Linked DNA regions of Homo sapiens: region 2 is linked to region 1. Evidence: promoter capture Hi-C in 16 types of primary human blood cells and fetal thymus (Javierre and others, 2016). All regions are on one chromosome and are shown on one strand. Each heading gives the region's core, a stretch centred on a gene start or on the middle of the fragment in contact. The rest is flanking DNA. Distances are from core to core; before and after follow the strand shown. Region 1 holds the start of KLHL24 (kelch like family member 24). Region 2 overlaps LAMP3 (lysosomal associated membrane protein 3).

The links. Contacts are between HindIII fragments. The CHiCAGO score rates a contact against its expected background, and 5 or more counts as called.
Region 2: a fragment that was not itself captured here is called in contact with the fragment with the promoter of KLHL24 in region 1 in 1 of 17 cell types (fetal thymus); the score reaches 5.6 in fetal thymus.

What each region holds. Positions count from the first base shown.
Region 1 is chr3:183,632,819-183,637,820 of GRCh38, forward strand. It overlaps KLHL24 (kelch like family member 24), which reads left to right and starts at 2,805. Exons shown (of 8, transcript NM_017644.3): 1 at 2,805-2,975. It overlaps LOC107986162 (a long non-coding RNA gene), which reads right to left and starts at 3,791. Exons shown (of 2, transcript XR_001741042.2): 1 at 3,717-3,791; 2 at 1,345-3,466. It overlaps LOC105374248 (a long non-coding RNA gene), which reads left to right. Exons shown (of 3, transcript XR_924773.3): 3 at 1-167. RefSeq lists an enhancer at 2,651-2,710 and silencers at 3,131-3,240, 3,251-3,320, 3,511-3,830, 3,881-4,210. The HindIII fragment of the contact is 5,143 bases long and covers 2,452-5,002 here.
Region 2 is chr3:183,119,581-183,124,582 of GRCh38, forward strand. It overlaps LAMP3 (lysosomal associated membrane protein 3), which reads right to left. Exons shown (of 6, transcript NM_014398.4): 6 at 2,635-4,634. The coding sequence ends at 4,501. Among named protein-coding and RNA genes, the nearest start is that of MCCC1, 23 kb to the left of the region's middle. The HindIII fragment of the contact is 3,732 bases long and covers 1,002-4,733 here.

The sequences.
Region 1 (5,002 bases), core at 1,555-4,054:
TATATGCATAAAAGTAAACAGGTGGAGAACAAGATAAAGTGTGACAACATCAGCAACATCCAAGTCAGCTGTGACTATTCAAAACTGGAAGGATCAAGTTCCAAAGTCCAGGCCGGGCGCAGTGGCTCACACCTGTAATCTCAGCACTTTGGGAGGCCAAGGCGGGCGGATCACCTGAGGTCAGGAGTTCAAGACCAGCCTGACCAATATGGTGAAACCCCGTCTCTATTAAAAATACAAAAACTAGCTGGGCGTGGTGGCAGGCACCTGTAGTCCCAGGTACTCAGGAGGCTGAGACACGAGAATTGCTTGAACCTGGGAGGTGGAAGTTGCAGTGAGCCGAGATCGTGCCACTGCACTCCAGCCTGGGCAACAGAGCAAGACTCCATCTCAAAAATAAAAATAAATTAAAAATAAATAAATAAGTAAATAAAAAGTTCCAGGTCGAGCGCAGTGGCTCAGGCCTGTAATCCCAGCCCTTTGGGAGGCTGAGATGGGCGGATCATGAGGTCAGGAGATCGAGACCATCCTGGCTAACACGGTGAAACCCCGTTTCTACTAAAAATACAAAAAATTAGCCGGGCGTGGTGGCGGGCGCCTGTGGTCCCAGCTGCTCGGGAGGCTGAGGCAGGAGAATGGTGTGAGCCCGGGAGGCGGAGCTTCAGTGAGCCAAGATTGCACCACTGCACTCCAGCCTGGGCGACAGAGTGAGACGTCACACACACACAAAAAAAGTTCCAAAGTCCAGAAATTGTCTTAAATCACAAGGAATAACAAAACTGAAGAAGGCTAATCCGTGAGCCTGGGGTGCTCATAAGGAGCTGCTAAGAGAAGACCACGTGAACCTATTCAGCAGCTACCTCCTGAGGAGCGGGAATTATTAAGCATACATCAACAAATATAAAAAATCAGTGTAAGAACAGCATTGTACTTCTCGACAGCAATACCAGAATCTAGGTGTTAATAAAGCAGTATCTTCGAAATCCCGAATAAATATAATTTATAATCTAGATTGTATGATTAGGCAACATCATCATTCAAAGGTAAAATAGAGTGATGATATTTTTAGACATGAAAAGTTCAAAAATATTTACTTCTCATGGACCTTTTCTTAGGAAGCTATTTAAGAGGAATGTGCTCTACCAAAATATGAGGCAATGCTCGAAATCACAGAAGAAAATGCTAGGATGCTGGAGAAGGGAAGACCCAAGACAGAGAAGCAAGCTTCCCAAACAGTCATTGGAACTGCGGACCAATGACTCTAAGAAAAAAGTACAGATACACACACACACACACACACACACACACACACACACACACATACACACACGATGGATTATCTGATGGGTTTGATTATATGGAGTTGTATTGAAAGCATTTTATCGTTTTAGAAAAACTAAGAGGACATTGTGATAGATCCATAATAAAATAAGCAAAGAAAGAGGATAATTATTAAAACTCCAAGGAAAACCAAAAGCCATACAAGATGGGAAATTGTATACGATTTGTCTCAACAATGAATAATAAATACATGGTCTCATTAGCGTAAACATTAATGATTTAACCAGATTATGAGAAGGATAGCTTCCTTAATAGGAAATAGTCATACATTATTTGGAAATATATAAATACCAGAAGAAATAGCTCAAATAATTGAATAAGAGATGGAAAAGAGGCCTAAAAAGTATGTTTAAAAGGCCTGTATATAGGCCTTCCATATTATTTCCGCCTCTGGTCATCAGAACACAACGCCTAATTTAATAGAGGCATGACGGTATTCATGACATGTAGAAGATAGAGATTTTTAAATTTGGTATCAGAAACCAAAAACTAGTTAAATGGTTGCAATCATCCTTTAAAAGAATACCTGCAGGCGGGGCGCAGTGGCTCATGCCTGTAATCCTAGCACTGTGGGAGGCCAAGGCAGGCGGATCACTTGAGGCCAGAAGTTCGAGACCAGCCTGGCTAACACAGCCTCTACTAAAAATACAAAACATTACCTGGGCGTGGTGGCGGGCACCTGTAGTCTCAGCTACTCGGGAGGCTAAGGCGGGAGAATCGCCTGAACCCGGGAGGCAGAGGTTGCAGTGGGCCGAGATTGCGCCACTGCACTCCACCCTGAGTGGCAGAGCGAAACTCTGTCTCAAAACGAAACAAAACAAAAAGCTTGCAGACACAAAACGACAACACAATGTCCTTTAGGAACTCCATCTACCTTGGAAAACAGGGATTTGTGACAGCTTTGGTCGACGTGCATGTGCGTTTAAAATAAAAAGGTAACCTAGGATTTGATACCAGGGACAGTAACAGCTTTATCAAAAAAAAAGAGGTGGTTTTCCTTGCTCCTTCTAAGGACTGGGGTTTTAGTCTCGTCCACCCTGCAGGCCCTCAGGCCTGATTTCCGATTGTCTATCAAAGGGTCAAATAAAAAGCTCTCTAAGCTTCGACCCAAGCTTTAAAGTCGAAGGGCTGATCGCGGGCTTTTTCCTTGGGACGTGGCAGGGGCCTTTGAGGGAAGGAAAGAAACGACTCTGGCTTCTCACTCGGCTCCTTACACAAGAGGCATTTTTTTAACTGTCTCTGCTTAAAACAAGGTGTTTTTGAGTCAGCAGCCCTTTGGGTGGGTCTCGTCCTCTTGGGCACCCGACACCCACCCCACGGCGGGAGCCCCAGGTGGCCCCGGAGGCCACCGGGAAGCGTGAACTACATCTCCCAGGGTTCCCCGGGGCGGAGGACGCCCACCCGGATTGGCCAGGGTTCGCTGACGCTCAGTGTTTTGGCCCGGACGGTCACATGTTTCCTTTGTTGTGAGCTGCGGCAGAGACTGGTGGCTGGAGGAGACGCCGGCGCTGGAGAGTGCGCTGCGCCGCCCGCCGCTGAGGGACCGCGGGGTTAGCCACTGCTGGCTGCTTCCAGTGTTCGCCGAGAGGTACCGGGGGTGACAGCTCCGGGACCGGCCGAAAGGCGAGGAACCGGTCAGAGTCTGAGTCCTCGGGGGCGGAGGGGCGACGGCGGTCCTGACCACCGGGGTGTCTGCGGGAGGGCAGCCAGCGGCGGCCGGCCTCTCAGAGCCAGACTGGCGGTCTGCGGAGAGGCTGCAGCTGGGCTACAGGGCCCCTTTCTGAGGCGAGGGGCCTCCAGGGTTCACCTGGGGGGTCTTCCTCCCCCGCTTGGTAGCTACAGCCCTGAGGGAGGGCGCGCGCGCCTCCTGGCACTACGGCCCGGAACCGCGGCGCGGCTGGTGCGGCCTGGCTAGGGCGGGGTGGTTGCCGGGACTGGGGGTAGCCGCAGGTGCGGTAGGCTAGTCGCCGCGGGGCCGGGCGCCGCCGGGGGAGGCGGCTGGGCAGACGGGTGCTGCTTGTTGCCGATGGGCTGCGAACGGGGCGCTGCTTTTTATTTCAGGAAGCCCGGGGGAGTGCGACCGCCTCAAATCCAGCCTTCTTGTTTGGTGGGACGACCGTCGGTTCTGTCCGGGAGGAATGACGGGGTCAAGGTGGGGTCCCCAGGGCCGCGGGCCCGTGAAGCCCCATTAAAGCGATTGCGAAATGCACTCGGCACTGTCACCTGACCGTTACCCCCGCCCCCGTCCCCTGCGAGCCTTTGTTTACCACGATCGCGACACCCGGCCCGCTGCGGCCGTCCCCGGGGAGCCGGGGCGGGCGGGGGAGCGGGCGTTCCGCCGGCGCAGTCCCCGCCTAACCTCCCCACCTTCTTACCACTCCAGGACTCAGTTTCTTAATTTAGTTCCTAATGGACCCGCCCTCAAGTTCTGGACACCCCGGGTGAAGACTGTTAACGCGGCGGGGATTGGGCGCCTGCGGCAGCTTGTGGGCGGTACCCGAGGGAGAGTTCGAGTTTTTATTGGCGAGTTTTTATTGTCACTAGGTGGGCCTGCCCTGGGCCATTCTTCCCGCCCCCTTGAAGGTGATCTGGAGGACGCGCGGGAGCGCGCGCTGTCGCTGCTTTTGCAGCTGCGGCCCGAGTGGAGCCGGGTGGCGCGGGTGCGGGAGGCGCGCGCTCCCGCCCCTGCTGCGGGCGGCTGGTAGCCTCGGTGGCCGCCGCCGCCGCTGCTGCTGCCTGATCCTGCAGGCAGTTCTGGGCACGCAGAGATCGGCTACCGTGGCCTGCCCTCCGAGGACCGGAAAATTAACACCCTTTAACTAGTGTCGCGTTATCTGCCGGGTGGTTCGCAGGAAGTCCTGCGAACACGTTGTTGCCAGTTCTGTAAACGTGTTTAGATAGCTAAATATAGATCACAGTGCCACATCTTAGGGGGCCCCACGGTCACCCCTGAGGCAGTGGCTGTTCACAATTGATTTTAGTGGATTTTAATGATTAATCACTTGCTCTTGTGGGCAGCTTTTCAAAAATCACGTCTTTGTATTTGCAGCTACAGACTGGGTCCACCAGCTAAGAGGTTGGTTTTTATTAGGGTTGTAAAATAGATTTAAAATCTGCTTGTTGTTGGCTGAGATTTAAAAGCAGATTTCTACTATTTAAAAAAGATAGTTTGAAGATACTCCCCTAAAAAGTAAAGATTCTTCCATACTCGGCTCGGATGAGTTGTTTTCCTTGTTTGAGGGATTCTAGGTCACACACTTCTATGTTTTAATTCCCGTGGTAATTCAAAATGTTTGAGAAGTGGGTTGCGACTGTGTCGTTTTAAAATTGTACATTAAGCTGACGGTAATAAAATCTTCAAGACCAATCATTTTTAGCCATAGTGTGTTGAAAATGGTTTTTCTAATCGCTTGAGTTAATAGGGTATTTGCGTTTTGTCAGATTTTCTTCTGCAGATATAGGAATTCACTCAAGACTTAATACACTTGTTTTGTTTTTGAGACAGGGTCTCACATTCTGTCACCCAGGCTGGAGTGGAGTGGTCTCACTCCGTCACCCAGGCCATCTCAGCTCACTGCAATCTCCGCCTCCCGAGTTCAATCGATTCTCCTGCCTTAGTTTCCCGAGTAGCTGGGATGACAGGCGCCCGCCACCACGCCCG
Region 2 (5,002 bases), core at 1,618-4,117, 510 kb before region 1:
GGTGGTGCACACCTGTAATCCCAGCTACTCAGGAGGCTGAGGCAGGAGAATTGCTTGAACCCAGGAGACAGAGGTTGCAGTGAGCCGAGATTGTGCCGTTGTACTCCAGCCTGGGTGACAGAGTGAGACTCCGTTTAAAAAAAAAATGGAATTGAGTGAGTGAATAACATTGTTGGGGTCAGCCAAAGCATGTTGGGGTGGGGTGGTGGGGCTGGTGGAGGTATGAGGAAGTTAGAAGAATACATGAGCACTTAAGAAGAAAGTTTGCCAGGACAGCATGAGGGAATATCTGGAAAGCAAAAGAGATTTTATAATTTTGATAACAGAATTTATTTCACAATTTTATCTTTAGTCAATCTTGGTCTTAATATAAAACTAGTTAAGTTAAAAACAAAATAAAACATCTCTTTTTTTTTTTTTTTTTTTTTTTTTTTTTGAGACAGAGTCTCACTCTGTTGCCCAGGCTGGAGGGCAGTCCTACGATCTTGGCTCACTGCAACCTCACCTCCCAGGTTCAAATGATTCTCCTGCCTCAGCCTCCCAGACAGCTGGGATTACAGGTGCCCACCACCATGCCTGGCTAATTTTTATATTTTTAGCAGAGATGGGGTTTCACAACATTGGCCAGGCTGGTCTCAAACTCCTGACCTCAGGTGATCCAACTGCCTCAGCCTCCCAAAGTGCTAGGGTTACAGGTGTGAGCCATGGCACCTGGCCTAAACATCTCTTATTTATGCCTGCCAACACTTGACCAAAATTGGCATCTCTTGGAGGCACTAAGGTGGGGTGAAGGGACTTGTTGATGAGCGAGGGGCTGGAGTATTATAAAATGAAACTCTTTTTTCATTGGCAGAGATTCTTCTTCCATTCTTTTTATAGTTTATATTCCTTTTACTTAGTGGGCAGAGGGAAACCTCACAGCAAATCATCCTAGAGAACCAAGACCCGGGTCAGGAAGGAGTGGCTCATGTATTTGTGTCCTCAGACCTTCTTGGCCTTCAAGCTTAGAGCCCCAAACAGGAGTCCAGAGGGGGGATCTAGGACCTTACAAAGCAAGAAAAGTGTGAGAAGAACAAAGGTGGGGCAGATTGGGTAGGGGCTGGAGCCATCCTGGCTACTTTCTTTTAGGAAGGTGAAGCCGTGACGTCAGTGCTGTAGACCAATGGGTCAACACCAGACCCTGTGGTCAATGGACCTTCATCACCAGGGATTGGGAGGCTGTGCTCCTGAGGAGGTGCTACACCTGGGGCAGGGTTGGAAGCAGGCTGGAAAGGGCCTTGCTCTCATCATCCCTTGTATATGTTCCTATTAATCCACTTATCTTAGTATATATACTGGAATTTATTTACTGAAGTTCCCTCCAAAAAGTAAACCACGAATTCCACAATGTTCACCTTGACAGTAGGCACCTGAGGTAGGCAGCATCCACGCTGCCTCCAGGGGTTCCTCCCTCTCCCGGCGCTGTGGTTGGAAGGTGTCCCCCAAACCATATGTTGGAAACTTAATCTACAATGCAACAGTGTTGAGAAGCGGGACCTTTAAGAGGCAGTGGGGTCATGATGGCTCTGCCCTCGTGGATGGATTAATGCTATTATTACAAGTGTGGGGCCCCCTCTTGCTCTCTCTTCTGTGTCCTCGCACCATGTGATGCCTTTTACCATGTTACAAGGCAGCAAGAAGATGCACATCAGATTTGGCCCTTCCATCTTGGACTTCCCAGGCTCCAGAACCATGACCAAATCAACTTCTATTGCTTGTAAGTTATCAAAAAATCTGTGGTATTCTGTGATAATGGCACAGAATGGACTAAAATCTGATATTCGAGCCCTTGTGTAGTCCCCTTCCACAGTGTACCAGAGATGGTTTGTGTGAACCATAAACAGACATGCGATAGTATGTTTCTTCTGTGATTAGGTTATAAAAATATGACGGCTTTCATCTTGGTCAGTCTCTCTCTCTCTCTTTTTTTTTGAGATGGAGTCTCGCTCTGTCGCCCAGGCTGGAGTGCAGTGGCATGATCTCGGCTCACTGCAACCTCTGTCTCCCGGGATCAAGCGATTCTTCTGCCTCAGCCTCCCGAGTAGCTGGGACTACAGGTGCACACCACCATGCCCAGCTAATTTGTTTGTACTTTTAGTAGAGACGGAGTTTCACCATATTGGCCAGGTTGGTCTCAAACTCCTGACCTCGTGACCTGACTGCCTCGGCCTCCCAAAGTGCTGGGATTACAGGTGTCAGCCACCGCTCCCAGCCCTCTCTCTCTTTCTCTCAGATCACTATGGGTAACTAATATAGGACCTCTTATTTATCTCAGCTCCTACAAGAGTATCTGGCATTTAGCAAATCCTTATCAATGCTGATCAAATGAATGAATGAACAAACGTGGCGACATTTAAGCAAACTAGTAATGCAGTCAGTCTAAGCTAAGAGTTGAGACATTTCATATGTAACTTTAATGTGGTTTATCTTCTCAGGAATTCCTACCAAGTGATAATGTGGCAATGGAGAATAGAATGAAACAAATTATAGAAAGATGATTTAACTTATTGATCGGAGCAAAAACCTAAGATGATTGTAAACAAAATTTATACAGCACAAAAATGAATCATAAAAAATAAATGACATGCACAAATCTCCAAAGTAAGTTTTTATTACAAAAACCTTTACTACAATTCAATGTTTTATTAAGACTAAAGTCAGGACCTTGCCAACTTACTGAGTCATAAGGAAACACATGAGGAAAGTCAACATGGTCTCTAGGCTGACTTGAATTATTCCTTGACTAAGAATTCTAGGGTTATGTGGACTTTTCTGTTAACATCCTGACTTAGTTCCTTTCTTTAGCAGCAAAAAAAACAGCAGAAATAAAATTCTTGGCAGGCTGCTCTACAGAATAAAGTGAACAATAGGAAATATGGATATGAAGTGCAGAAGCAGCAAGTTACCACAAGATGGGGCTATACACTCAAGAAAGAACAGTTGGTTAGCGAAGTTTCTCTATTATCAAAAAAATTTAAAAATACTTTGAGTTTATTTGATGCCTTCATCTTTACAGCCCAGCTAAGCAATCCCATAAAAATGAGCAACTGACTAATGTTTTACAAAGCCCCTCAGTCTCCTTCCAGAGAGTGGAGGATTTATTAAGGATAGGCTATTTTGTTATCTGCAAAGCTCTCCTTTCATCTACCCTAATGTCTCATGATCCTGGATAAACCCATTTCCCTGTAAGGTGAGCGTATGCTGGTATGAGGTGTGAGCCTTCAGGCAGAGTGTGGTGTCATTGTTCTTGTAGGTAACTTGGTGTAGGGAGAAGACCAAAGACCTTGATGTCAGACCAACATGAATTCAAGCTCTGGCTCTGCCATCAGTTAGCCAGGTGACATTTAAGTGATTCAGTTCCCTTAAGTCTCAGTTTACTCATTCACCTATAAGTTGTGAGAATGAAATGAGATATAGATAAAGTGCTTAGCCTAGACTCTGGCACTTTGTTAATAATTAAGGGCCATTATTATTGTCTCTTGCTTATTGTTTAGTTCTACCATCTGTAGCCACCTAATTCTTAGTCTAGCGATTCTGGAGCAGGAGTCATCAAGATAAAAAATATAAGCTGATTTGTTCTTTTTGTTGGTTTTACATAAAAACACTTAGACAACCTGAGATATGTTGTTCTTTTTGATGATTAAAAAAAACATTTAAGGCCGGGCGCAATGGCTCATGCCTGTAATCCCAGCACTTTGGGAGGCTGAGGTGGGTGGATCACCTGAGGTCAAGAGTTCAAGACCAGTCTGGCCAACATGGTGAAACCCCGTCTATAATAAAAATACAAAAATTAGCCAGGCGTGGTAGTGTGTGCCTGTAATCCCAGCTACTCGGGAAGCTGAAGCAGGAGAATCACTTGAACCCGGGAGGCGGAGGTTGCCATAAGCCGAGATCGTGCCACTGTACTCCAGCCTGGGTGACAAGAGTGAAACTCCGTCTCAAAAAACAAAAACAAATTTAAAGTGGAAAAGGAGTTAAGTGCTACACCAGGAATATGTATGTTACATGAAACCATAAAACACAGATAGTAAAAGCACTGAAAGTCCATTTGATAACAAAGCAAAGGCTTTGTTAAGATCAAGGGTAAAATAAAATCTTCAATGCACACACAGTAGTATTAGTTACAATTGACCCTTGGTTTATAATTTGAAGGCTTATTCTACTTTACATATATTATGTTAATTCAACATATCTCAAATGTTGACTTTGAGTGGCTAAAATATTCTAAAGGAAACTAGAAAATAAACAGCTCACTATATCTTTCATAAAATAAACAAAAAGTATTTAGAAATTGATGTGCTGCCTGAACTTAAATCACACATGACTCACTTCATTTGAATAGAAGATGGTGGTTTACATTGTTTGAAGGACCCACACTCTGAGGGAATTTCCCAACATCCATCCTGGAAGGGATGAAAGAGTTCTCTAAATTCCATTATTTTCATTCCCCCCGGGCAACAATTAGATTCTCTGGTATCCAGATGATTGACACCTTAGGCGGATTTTATAGACACCCATACCCATAAGGCAGAGACCAACCACGATGGCCCCAATCACAGGAAGCACAATTGTGTAGTCAGACGAGCACTCATCCACTAAGAGAGAAAACAAATACAATACAGTGGGTAAGGTTTGGTGATGCAGTCCAGAAAGCAGGCTAGAGGGGAAAGAAGATGAGCTTTGGCATCAAACAAAGCTTGACTTTTAACTCCACCATTAACTAGCTTTGTGACCTTGGGCAGGTAATTTACCCTTGCAATTTCCTAATTTATAAAGTAAGCAAATAATATGTAAGACTGTCAGAAGATTAAATAACCATATTTTCTTAGTAATTAACATTCAATAATCATAATCCTTATTTCCTGAACTGAGTAAGAAGTCACTCCAGGCATACTCCCTGCTAAGTGGGATATGCTTACATAAAAGAGACCAGCCGGGCACAGTGGCTCACGCCTGTAATCCC